2 separate regions of the Homo sapiens genome follow, and region 1 is linked to region 2. Evidence: promoter capture Hi-C in 16 types of primary human blood cells and fetal thymus (Javierre and others, 2016). All regions are on one chromosome and are shown on one strand. Each heading gives the region's core, a stretch centred on a gene start or on the middle of the fragment in contact. The rest is flanking DNA. Distances are from core to core; before and after follow the strand shown.

Region 1 (6,158 bases), core at 3,304-5,803, 130 kb before region 2:
GTAAAAACTATTCTAACATCCACATGGAACAACAACAACAAAAAAACCCCGAGTAGCCAAGGCACTCCTAAGCAAAAAGAACAAAGCCAGAGACATCACATGACTTGAGTTTAAACTATATTACAAGACTACAATAACCAAAATAGCATGGTGCTGGTCAAAAAACAAAACAAAACAAAACAGACACATGAACAAATGGAAAAGTTTAAAGAAAGCAGAAATAATACCACACACCTACAACTATCTGATCTTTGGTAAAGCTAACAAAAAAAGCAATGGAGAAAGAATGCATTATTCAATAAATGGTGCTGGGTTAACTGGCTAGCTATATGCAGAAGATTGAAACTGGACCCCTTCTTCTCACTATATACAAAAATCAACTCAAGATGAGTTAAAGATGTAAATGTAAAATTTAAAACTATAAAACCACCAAAAGAAAACCTAGGAAATACCATTCTGGACATAGGCACTGGCAAAGATTTCCTGATGAAAACTTCAAAAGCCACTGCAACCGAACAAAAAGTTAACAAGAGGGACCTAATTCAACTAAAGAGTTCATGCACAACAAAGGAAACTATAAACAGAGTAAACAGACAACCTACAGAATGGGAGAAAATATCTGCAAACTATGCATCTGAAAAAAGTCTAATATCCAGAATCTATAAGGAAGTTAAAGAAATTAAGAACAAAGCAAACAACCCCATTAAAAAATGGGCAATGGACATTAACAGACATTTATCCAAGAAGACATACACATGGCCAGCAAGCATATGAAAAAATGCTCAACACCAAAACAGAGATATAGATCAATGGAACAGAACAGAGCCCTCAGAAATAATGCCACATATCTACAACCATCTGATCTTTGACAAACCTGACAAAAACAAGCAATGGGGAAAGGATTCCCTATTTCATAAATGGTGCTGGGAAAACTGGCTGGCCATATGTAGAAAGCTGAAACTGGATCCCTTCCTTACACCTTATACAAAAATGAATTCAAGATGGATTAAAGACTTAGATGTTAGACCTAAAACCATAAAAACCCTAGAAGAAAACCTAGGCAATATCATTCAGGACATAGGCATGGGCAAGGACTTCATGTCTAAAACACCAAAAGCAATGGCAACAAAAGCCAAAATTGACAAATGGGATTTAATTAAACTAAAGAGCTTCTGCACAGCAAAAGAAACTACCATCAGAGTGAACAGGCAACCTACAAAATGGGAGAAAATTTTTGCAACCTACTCATCTGACAAAGGGCTAATATCCAGAATCTACAATGAACTCAAACAAATTCACAAGAAAAAAACAACCCCATCAAAAAGTGGGTGAAGGATATGAACAGACACTTCTCAAAAGAAGACATTTATGCAGCCAAACAACACGTGAAAAAATGCTCATCATCACTGGCCATCAGAGAAATGCAAATCAAAACCACAATGAGATACCATCTCACACCAGTTAGAATGGCGATCATTAAAAAGTCAGGAAACAACAGATGCTGGAGAGGATGTGGAGAAATAGGAACACTTTTACCCTGTTGGTGGGACTGTAAACTAGTTCAACCATTGTGGAAGTCAGTGTGGCGATTCCTCAGAGATCTAGAACTAGAAATACCATTTGACCCAGCCATCCCATTACTGGGTATATACCCAAAGGATTATAAATCATGCTGCTATAAAGACACATGGACACATATGTTTATTGCGGCACTATTCACAATAGCAAAGACTTGGAACCAACCCAAATGTCCAACAACGATAGACTGGATTGAGAAGATGTGGCACATATACACCATGGAATACTATGCAGCCATAAAAAATGAAGAGTCATGTCCTTTATAGGGACATGGATGAAACTGGAAACCATCATTCTCAGCAAACTATCGCAAGGACAAAAACCAAACACCACATGTTCTCACTCATAGGTGGGAATTGAACAATAAGAACACATGGACACAGGAACAGGAACATCACACTCCGGGGACTGTTGTGGGGTGGGGGGAGGGGGGAGGGATAGCATTAGGAGATATACCTAATGCTAAATGATGAGTTAATGGGTGCAGAACACCAACATGGCACATGTATACATATGTAACAAACCTGCACATTGTGCACATGCACCCTAAAACTTAAAGTATAATAATAATAATAAAAAAAACTGAAAAAAAAAAGAAAAATGCAGGTAGAAAGCACATGAGATATCATCTCATACCAGTCAGAATGGCTGTTACTAAAAAGTAAAAAAATAACAGATGCTGGCAAGGTTGCCAAGAAAAGGGAATTCTTAAACACTGCTGGTGGGCTTGTAAATTAGTTCAGCCACTGTGGAAAGCAGTTTGGAGAGTTCTCAAAGAACTTAAAACAGAACTATCATTTGACCCACCAATCCCATTACTGCTTATATACCCAAAGGAAAATAAATCATTCTACCATAAAGACACATGAATGTGCATGTTCATCGGTGCACTATTTCCAATACCAAAGACATGGAATCAACCTAAATGTTCATCAGTGGTGGACTGGATAATGAAAATGTTGTACATATATGCCTTAGAATACTACACAGCCATAAAATGAATGAAATAATGTTCTTTGCAGCACTGTGGATGCAGCTGGAGGTCAATATTCTAAGGGAATTAATGCAGGACTAGAAAACCAAATATCACATGTTCTTACTTATGAGTGGGAACTAAATATTGAGTACACATGGACACAAAGGGACCAATAGACACCAGGACCTACTTGAGGGTGGAGGATGGGAAGAGGGTAAAGATTGAAAAACTACCTATTGGGTACTATGCTCATTATCTGGGTGATGAAATAATCTGTACAACAAATTCCCATGACACAATTTACCCATGTAACAAACCTATTTGTGTACCCTCTGGACCTAAAATAAAAGTTGGAAAGAAAAAAAAAAAAAGAAAGTAACAGTCTTGTCTGAGTTCTACTCTCCTGAGTTCAGAGGCCAAAATGACTTTGAAAAAAGCACCAAGGTGGGGAATTGAGAATCTCTGAATTCTGTCACTAGCCATGTCAGCAAGAGCATGTTTAAGAATGTTGTGGGAAGAAACTAAGTGGCTGGATGTTCAATCCCAACTCCCCTTGTTATTTTCAGTTTTAGCAGAGCATGTGTTCCCTATGAGAAGAAAGCTCCTGGTATAAGGAAAATCCTTTTTTCTGAACATCAAGAGAGTGTTGCAAGAACCTACCCATTTGCCTGAGAGCTGAGCCCTGCCCCTGTACCTGCTATGGCCTTCTCTCCAGCAGTGAGGGCTTTGTCTGACTGCAGGATGGATTCCTCTATAACCACCTGTGACTGCAGGAAGCTCTGGAGGACCTCGTCTGCCTGAAGAACCAAGAAGGAGCAAAGACCTGTCAGGCAGCAGAAATCTTGTCTTGTGATGAGGAAATTATTGTTCAACAAAGCCACAAATCTAACCTTGTAAACTTCACATTATTCTTAAGATTCCACAGTGGTTTCTTTCCTTCCACAGCCACAATAAAAAGTCCAAGCTCTTTGTTGAGACATGAAAACCCTGTGTAGCAGCCTCCCTCCTGCCTGTCCAGCCTCTTCTCCCAGGGATGCTGCTCACCACCCACCCCCGGTGCAGACAACCAGATTTCTATGCAGTTCTACAAACACACATCCTCCATAGTTTGCATTATTTGCTTTCTTTTTTCTTTTGCCTGAAGGCCTGCCTACCCTTTTCAAATTAGGATAACATCTATTGATACTTTACCTAATAGCTCTTACCTCACTGGAAGCTTTTCTAGGCTAATTATTTATTTATTTATTTACTTTTGATCACTGTTAAGAATGTTGATAATAGTTCATTAAAAGTAAACAATGTATTCAAATTTAATTTAAAAAGTTAAAACCTTAAAAAGACCGAACAGGTAACTGTTTAGTCTATTTAGGAGTAGTGGTGAATATAATGGAAAATTGAACAGTTGAGAAACTTTTTTTTCTCTTTTGAGACAGTCTCACTCTGTCACCCAAGCACAAGTTCAATGGTATTATCACTTCAACCTTGAACTCCCGGGCTGAATGCTGCTGCCTCAGCCTCCTGCATAGCCAGGACTACAGATGTGTGCCACCGCAGCTGGCTAATTTTATTTTTTACTTTTGTAGAGATGGAAGTCCTGTCATGTTGCTCAGGATGGTTTCAATCTCCTGGTCTTAAGCAATCCTCCTACCTTGGCCTTCCAAAGCGTTGGGATTATAGGTGTGAGCCACTGTACCTGGCCTGAGAAACTTTAAGAATTTGAAACTTTAAGGGAGTAACATGGCTGTCCAAAATGGGAAATTACCAATCAAGGAAAATACAACACTGCATAGACTTAACAGTCACACATGGGAAGGAAAAAGAGGCATAAATACCTCAGCCAATAAGTGATTAGTGACTGAAATTTGGGTGTGTGGGGCACATCACAGAAGGAAGGACCTAGGCATTTTTTGACGGTTATTTTCCTTGTTCCCTTCTTTCAAAAAAAATTTAGATTCATGGGTGTATTAGGACATTCTTGCATTGCTACAAATACCTGAGACTGGGTAATTTTTTTTCTTATTGTGTGATTGTAGCTTATTCACTTTCATTGTGATATAGTACGCCATTATGTGAATACACTAGTTTACTTGTTCTATTGTTGATGGACATTAGGGTAAAATTTCAGTTTGGTGCTATTGTGAATGATACTGTTGTGACCATTTCTGTCCCAGTCTTTTAAGTGAATGTATATATCTAGGAATGGATTTGCTGGGTCATTTGGTATTTGTTTTTCAATTTTAGCAATTAAAACCAAACAGTTTTCCAAATTGATGTTCTGATTTATACCTCATTAGCAATGTGTGAGAATTCCAGTTGCTTCATATTCTTGTCAACACTTGGAATTTTGATTTCTTAAACAGTCACCTTCTTTTCATTTTGTGAGGAAATTGAAACTCAGATAAGTGAAATTACCTGACCTGTACTAGGCTTTGTTCTGAGAATGCAAAGGACCTTGCAGTTCAGAATTAAGCACTTTTTTCTGTTTAACTGGTAGTGACTTATGAAGTAAAAAATCATACTCAGATTTGATATATGTATCTTTCCAAGGAGGATTACAAGTAGCTATTTATTTTTATCTGATCTGAATTTAAAATAGTTTTTTGGACACTACTGTTTTAGGGTGAGTGAGCAATAATGATTTAGGTATAGAGTTAGGATCTACATTTAATTTTTTTTATTTAACTTTTATTTTAAGTTCGGGGTAATTTATAAAGCAAAGAGGTTTAATGGGCTCATAGTTCTGCAGGCTTTACAGGAAACATGCCTTCTGGTAAGGCTTCAGGAAGCTTTTACTCCTGGTGGAATGTGAAGCAGGAGCTTGCATGTCACATGACAAAAGCAGGAGCAAGAGAGAGTGAGAGAGAGTGGAGGTGCCACATACTTTTAAATGACCAGACCTCCAGAGAACTCACTATCACACAGACAGCAGCAAGCCATAAAGGATCTTCCCCCATGATCCAAACACCTCCCACGAGGCCCCACCTCCAGCACTGGGGATTACAATTCAATATGAGGTTTGAGTGGAGACAAATAGCCCAACTTGATCAATGGGGTTCGCATGCAGGTTTGTTACATGACTATATTGCGTGATACTGAGGTTTGGGCTTCAGTCAAAACAGTCACCCAGATAGTGAATGTAGAACCCCAAAGGTCGTTTTTCAACCCTACTTCCCTCCCTGCCTCCTCCCTCTTGTATTCCCCAGTGTATATTGTTCCCGTCTTTATGTACATGTGTATTCATTGTTTAGCTCCCACTTACAAGTGAGAACATGGAGTATTTGGTTTTCCGTTTCTGCATTAATTCACTTAGGATAATGGCCTCCAGATGCATCCATTTTTCTGCAAACGACATGATTTCATTCTTTTTATGGCTGCATAGTGTCTCAAGGTGTATATGCACCACATTGTAAAAATCCAGTCTACTATTGATGGGCGCATAGGTTGATTCTGTGTCTTTGCTATTGTGAATAGTGCTGTGATAAACATATGAGTGTGGGTGTCTTTTTGGTAGAATGTTTTATTTTCCTTTGGGTGTATACCTAGTAATGGGATTGCTGGGTTGAATAATAATAATAATTCTATTTTTAGTTCTTTAAGAAATCTC
Region 2 (6,178 bases), core at 902-3,401:
GCAGGTCTCTTCTCATTCTAATCTATTTTCAATGTAGTATTAGTACCTTATATATGTAGAATTCTGGTTGCCTGATTTGTATGCAGCGGAGGCCAGAATAATTTTTCCACTAGAAAGATATGGGCACCTTGAAGTGATGATCTACAACAATTAGCTAGAAAAACAAAAGATACATAAGCCAAATCTATAAGCAGATATTGAGAGCTTACAAGATCTTATGATTTGGGATGATGTCACTAAGGAAGAGGGAATGAATGTGTCTGAGTGTTCAGACTCTCTTATGAATGACAATAGCATTGTATATCTACATTAATAATAGTATTTGACATGTTGTCCCCAATGTCATCTGGATAGCATCTTTAATGCTTTTAGTAAAGCCAAATTTCTAAAACATTATTGCAGATTTAATGTGTTCAAGCCACAAACATAACTGTTGCTCTGTTATTCATAACTTAGTGTTCTGGGATGCATTCTCCCTAACTGCTTGAGCCCTATAACCTTTGCAAATAAAAACAATGCAAGAATGGTTCAAAATACACACACAAAATGCACATTTTGCCCTTGCCTTAAATTAGACTTGATTTCCAACCCCAGCCCTACAACTGGCTATCTGTATCTCTCTGGCATTTCACTCAATTCTTTCAGCTTGTTTTCTAAAAAAGCAAAAGTAAATAAACAACTATTTATTAACATCAGTATAACTGCTGGCTTATGAAAGAGAGTGAGCGAGCTGCAGGAGATTTTAAAAAGTGCAAAGAAGGAAAATGCCCAAAAAAAAATACTAAGAGAAAATGCTCAGAAGTGGTAGTGGAAGGATTTCTGAAAGAAAACATCTGTTTTCAGCCATATGATTCTAGTTTGGGTTTTGCGCCTGCATTTGTATATGTAGTTGTTATTGCTTGCTTTTGCTTATTTTGCATAGTTTCTGGTTTGAATTTCAAGGAAAAGGAAAAGGCTCTTATTAAGGATATAAATGGAAATCAAACTAGTACAAAATGCTTGAAGTATGTGTCATGGTAAGAAATTCAAAGGAGAGAATTTCAACGAGTGAACAGTTGCCAGACAGTATTGAGGGATCCAGTTGGGCAACTGTTAAATTAGGTGATTCATAATAGTAAAGGCAATAGAGTAGTAGAAGCAGAACCCAACACAAAAGGGGTTAGTTAAGTGAGTAGATGCCAAGAAACCAACATGAATTAAGTCAGGGCTATTGCTAAAGGAAGAAATCTACTTTCAAACAAAGTACAAGACTATGACTAAAAATACATCACTGTTTTCATGAAACTTCTCTCTGGGCAACATTTTTTTCTTGTCCTTAATGTTTGCAAGCTACTTACATTGCATCATATTCATTGTTCTTTCTCATGAAAATAATAGCTATCATAGTTTTTGAAACTTTCATGCTGAAGTTCGAGTCAGTTTAATCAGATTTTATGAAGGACGAAGGTAACTTAAGTGGAAATTATGATCCTGAATAAGTCATAAAATTGCAAAGGAAGAAAAATAATTTGAAGGCATTTCAAACTCTTAGTTTAGTCACCACACACATTGATGTCTAATTCAGCAAGAGGCAGACACAGCTGGTACTTGATGAATTCTGCTGCCTGTCTGATAAGAATACAATTTATTCTTTACTGAGGTCTGATATACCACATCAGGATAAGCTGCATCCTATCCTTTGTAGAATGTTTCTAAAACCAAATGAATCTTGCAAATCTCTTCCACCTCTTGCCCCAGTCTTACCGTGTCCGGAATTGGTGGGTTCTTGGTCTCACTGACTTCAAGAATGAAGCCGCGGACCCTAGCGTTGAGTGTCACGGTTCTTAAAGGTGGCGTGTCAGGAGTTTGCTCCTTCTGATGTTCGGATGTGTTTGGAGTTTCTTCCTTCTGGTGGGTTCGTGGTCTGGCTGGCTCAGGAGTGAAGCTGCAGACCTTCGCGGTGAGTGTTACAGCTCTTAAGGCTGCGCGTCTGGAGTTGTTTGTTCCTCCTGGTGGGTTCGTGGTCTCGCTGGCTTCAGGAGTGAAGCTGCAGACATTCCCAGTGAGTGTTACAGCTCATAAAGGCAGTGTGGACCCAAAGAGTGAGCAGCAGCAAGATTTATTGCAAAGAGTGAAAGAACAAAGGTTCCACAGCCTGGAGGGTGACCTCAGTGGGTTGCCACTGCTGGCTACTTCTCTTATCTGGCCCCACCCACATCCTGCTGATGGGTCCATTTTACAGAGAGCCGATTGGTCCATTTTACAGAGAGCTGATTGGTCTGTTTTGACAGGGTGCTGATTGGTGTGTTTACAATCCCTGAGCTGGACACAAAAGTTCTTCATGTCCCCACTAGATTAGCTAGATACAGAGTGTGGATTGGCCTATTTACAAACCTTGAGCTAGATACAGAGTGCTGATTGGTGCATTTACAAACCTTGAGGTAGATACAGAGTGCTGATTGGTGCATTTACAATCCCTTAGCTAGACATAAAGATTCTCCAAGTCCCCACCAGATTAAATAGATACAGAGTGCTGATTGGTGTATTTACAATCCCTTAGCTAGACATAAAGATTCTCCAAGTTCCCACTAGACTCAAGAGCCCAGCTGGCTTCACCCAGTGGATCTTGCACCGGGCGGCAGGTGGAGCTGCCTGCCAGTCCTGCTCCATGCACTGGCACTCCTCGGTCCTTGGGCCATGGATGGGACAGGGTGCTGTGGAGCAGGGGTCAGCACAGGTTGGGGAGGCTCAGGCAGCACAGGAACCCATGGCGGGGTGAGGTGGGGAGCGGGAGAGGGGAGGAGGCTCAGGCATGGCAGGCTGCAGGTCCCCAGCCCTGCCCCACCGGGAGGCAGCTAAGGCCCTGCAAGAAGTGGAGCACAGCAGCTGCTGGCCCAGGTGCTAAGCCCCTCACTGCCTGGGGCCGCTCCGAGTGCAGGTCCCTCAGAGCCCAAGCCCACCCAGAACTCGCGCTGGCCCTCAAGCACCGGGCGCAGCCCCAGTTCCCACCCCTGCCTCTCCCTCCACACCTCCCAGCAAGCTGAGGGAGCCAGCTCCGGCCTCGGCCAGCCCAGGAAGGGGCTCCCACAGTGCAGCGGAGGGCTGAAGGGCTCCTCAAGTGCCGCCAGAGTGGGTGCCCAGGCAGAGGAGGCACCGAGAGCGAGGGAGGGCTGCAAGGGCTGCCAGCACGCCGTCACCTCTCATTACCTTGATTATAAAATCGGGAGAAGAGGTATTTTAGAGCTAGTAAGAAAACTGCTTCCATGAGGGACTGGGCACGGTGGCTCACGCCTGTAATCCCAGCATGTTGGGTGGCCGAGGCGGGTGGATGACGAGGTCAGGAGATCTAGACCATCCTGGCTAACACGATGAAACCCCGTCTCTACTAAAAATATACAAAAAATTACCTGGGCATGGTGGCGGGCGCCTGTGGTCCCAGCTACTCGGGAGGCTGAGGCAGGAGAATGGCTTGAACCTGGGAGGCGGAGCTTGCAGTGAGCCGAGACTGCACCACTGCACTTCAGCCTGGGTGACAGAGCGAGACTCTGTCTCAAAAAAAAAAAAAAAAAGAAAAGAAAAGAAAAAAGAAAGCTGCTTCGATGAGAACTTGCTGAGTTCGAACTCTCGTCTTTTACTTTCACTGTGGTGATTTCTCATTTATTTTCTTCACTCAGTCCTGGGGTTTTTGTTCTTCCCACCCCATTTTCCCTGCTCGAAAAAGGAGACAATTTGAATACAAAATATGGAATAACAGAAAGGGGGATTTTTGAAAGTTCTCTGTAGGAAATAGAAACCAAAAAGGAAATTCAGTGACTAAGCCAGATGACAAAGGGAATTGCCCAACTGTTACCTAGTGTAGATAGGCTGGATGTATTTGACCTGACTTCTTTGAAACTGCATGTTTCCTAGAAACTGCAGAGAATCCTTTCAGTGCCAGCCATACTCCTCCCTGCTTCCATTGTTGTTGTTACTAGAAGAGAAATTTGAGATCTTTCACAGTTGTTCAAAGTATGTGGTATTTCAAACCTAGCTTGAAATACGTTGACATTCATCTCCAGTTTGGGAGTAGGCCAGGGGAAGAGCTCATATGATTTTTGAGGTCTATTGTTGTGAAATGTTAGAGCTGCTCACACAGGACTAAGTTTATTACTTTCGCAGTAGGTTCAGTAGCTGAGAACTTTAACTCACAGGCAAGGACAAAGTTTTTGGCACTTAGTACATGATGAATGATAACAAGGATATTATTTATTAGACATTTGTAATGCCCTGGACAGGTTTCACTACTTTGTGTGGATTATTCTATTTTAATTCTCCCAACAAATGCTTTCTCCCAATTTTACAAAAGCTAAGACACAGGGAGATTTAGTAACTTGCCCAAAATCACAGAGCTACTAATAAATGGATCTTAAGACTGAAACCCAAGCACTTTATTGTAGTCCTTTTGTGTTTGTTGAGTGAATCATCATAATAATCATCATTATTATTGTCCCTTTTTAATAAATGGATTCTAAGATCTGGACACTAAATATCTCATATTATCCTGGTTTCAATCCTACAAGACAATTTTTTTTCTATCTTTATTTTACAATGAACAGAGTGGCTGTTAGGCAGTATTTTTGGAGCTTTAGTTCCTAGACAAGGATTTGTGAGCAAGGGATATTTATTTTGAAGGTGCTCATAAGAAACGGGGTAGGACAGTGGGAAAGTGAAAACTGGAACGGAATGAAGCCAGTGACTGGGAACATATCTAGCAGGTTTTGTTGTGGGAACCAGGAGTTAGATCTCCTCAGGTAACTCTAGGAAACAATGTAAAATCTGCCTCCAATTTCCCTCTTGGGTGGGTTAGAAACCTGGGGTACTTTTCTTCCAACTTCCTTTCATTTCTGGATAAAGACTGGTCCTGAAAGCATAACCCCCTTGCACTCCTGACCTGGCCCACGTGTGGGCTGAGAAAAAATGCTTAGATGAAGGATCTCTGATGTTTGCAGTGAGATGCCATTGGAATGTGCAAGGTTGAGTGATAAAGGGAGATGGCCTTCACAGATGTTGTGGGTATCCCATCCATATTGCCCCTATCTTATGCAAAGATCAACCTTTCCTTAATGGCTTCTTCAATTTTGTGGCTGGTCGTTAGTTTAAATATATATATATACACACACACACACACACACACAATAGGAAAGTCTAAGCTATAGTCCTCTTTGCTGCAACTGATTTTGTGATCCTAACTGATATTCAAGATCTTCTCCTCTATTACCCATTCTAGGTTTTGCTCATACTTGATCAGGAGTTCTCCTTGTCTAGGTTGCCTTCTCAGTGGAGAGAAACATTTCTTCATTTCTGAGAAACCAGAAGACCTATTTCTGTGCTTTAATAAGGCTGTAGTTACTTCCAGTGCATCTTAACAGGCCATGCAAGCACCAAGAGTATCCCAGGGAATCCTTTGAGTGCCAGCCATACTCCTCCCTGCTTCCATTATGTACTATTTCCTCACAGAAACCATAATCATTTAAGCTTGCCAGTAGATCAATCCTTTTAATTGCCTGCTGGCTTGTCTACAAACATGAAATTCATAAAATGACCAGGTGGCAGCTATAGTTTCAGATTTAGTAGAACTTTACTATGACCCCTGGTAGAAAAACTGCTTAACTTCACCCTGAGAACTGGCCCTCTAGTCCAGCAGACTAGACAATGGATCACAAATTCACAAATAATTCAACGGAGAATACTCCTACTTTAACGCTTTGGTTCCCAGGCTCATATATTCCAGCTAGCATATAATATCCTTTAGTTATCCAATTATATACTGCATATTGAATGACAGTCCCCAACCCCACAATGGTCTCTACTGGCCATTCCAGTTTTGTTAGGCTGGCAGCTTTTAGATGATGTATAAGGACTAGTGGATTCCATGGTTACATTCGCATTGTTGTGCCTCTTTACTGTAAAGTAAAACTTTCAAAACTTTCTCTAAGCTGATGTTTAGTAGGATTTTAGGACATTTAAACAGACACTGCAAGTCCTCGAATAGGTGCTGGCTGAACCACTCTCAACAGGGGAATATCCATACCCAGAATTTATGTCAATTTCAGTAAAAAAAAAAAAAAATCACAGACTCCTCCAAGGTGCAAAAGGACTGATTTGATCACCTTGACATCTAGTGGTCTGGTTGGTCTTCTTGAAGGGTGGTATTATACTG

Evidence for each region. The method cuts DNA at HindIII sites, captures the fragments that hold promoters and counts their contacts. A CHiCAGO score of 5 or more calls a contact.
Region 1: a contact is called between a fragment that was not itself captured here and the fragment with the promoter of GBP5 in region 2, in 8 of 17 cell types (total CD8 T cells, activated CD4 T cells, naive CD8 T cells and 5 more). The highest score is 15.5, in total CD8 T cells.

The regions. Positions count from the first base shown.
Region 1 is chr1:89,138,298-89,144,455 of GRCh38, forward strand. GBP7 (guanylate binding protein 7) reads right to left here. Exons shown (of 11, transcript NM_207398.3): 9 at 3,249-3,351. All of the region lies in intron 1 of LOC105378842 (a long non-coding RNA gene), which reads left to right. Among named protein-coding and RNA genes, the nearest start is that of GBP2, 15 kb to the left of the region's middle. The HindIII fragment of the contact is 1,570 bases long and covers 3,769-5,338 here.
Region 2 is chr1:89,270,709-89,276,886 of GRCh38, forward strand. It overlaps GBP5 (guanylate binding protein 5), which reads right to left and starts at 2,152. Exons shown (of 12, transcript NM_052942.5): 1 at 1,744-2,152; 2 at 47-154. It also overlaps the pseudogene LOC100421401. The HindIII fragment of the contact is 6,725 bases long and covers 1-5,491 here.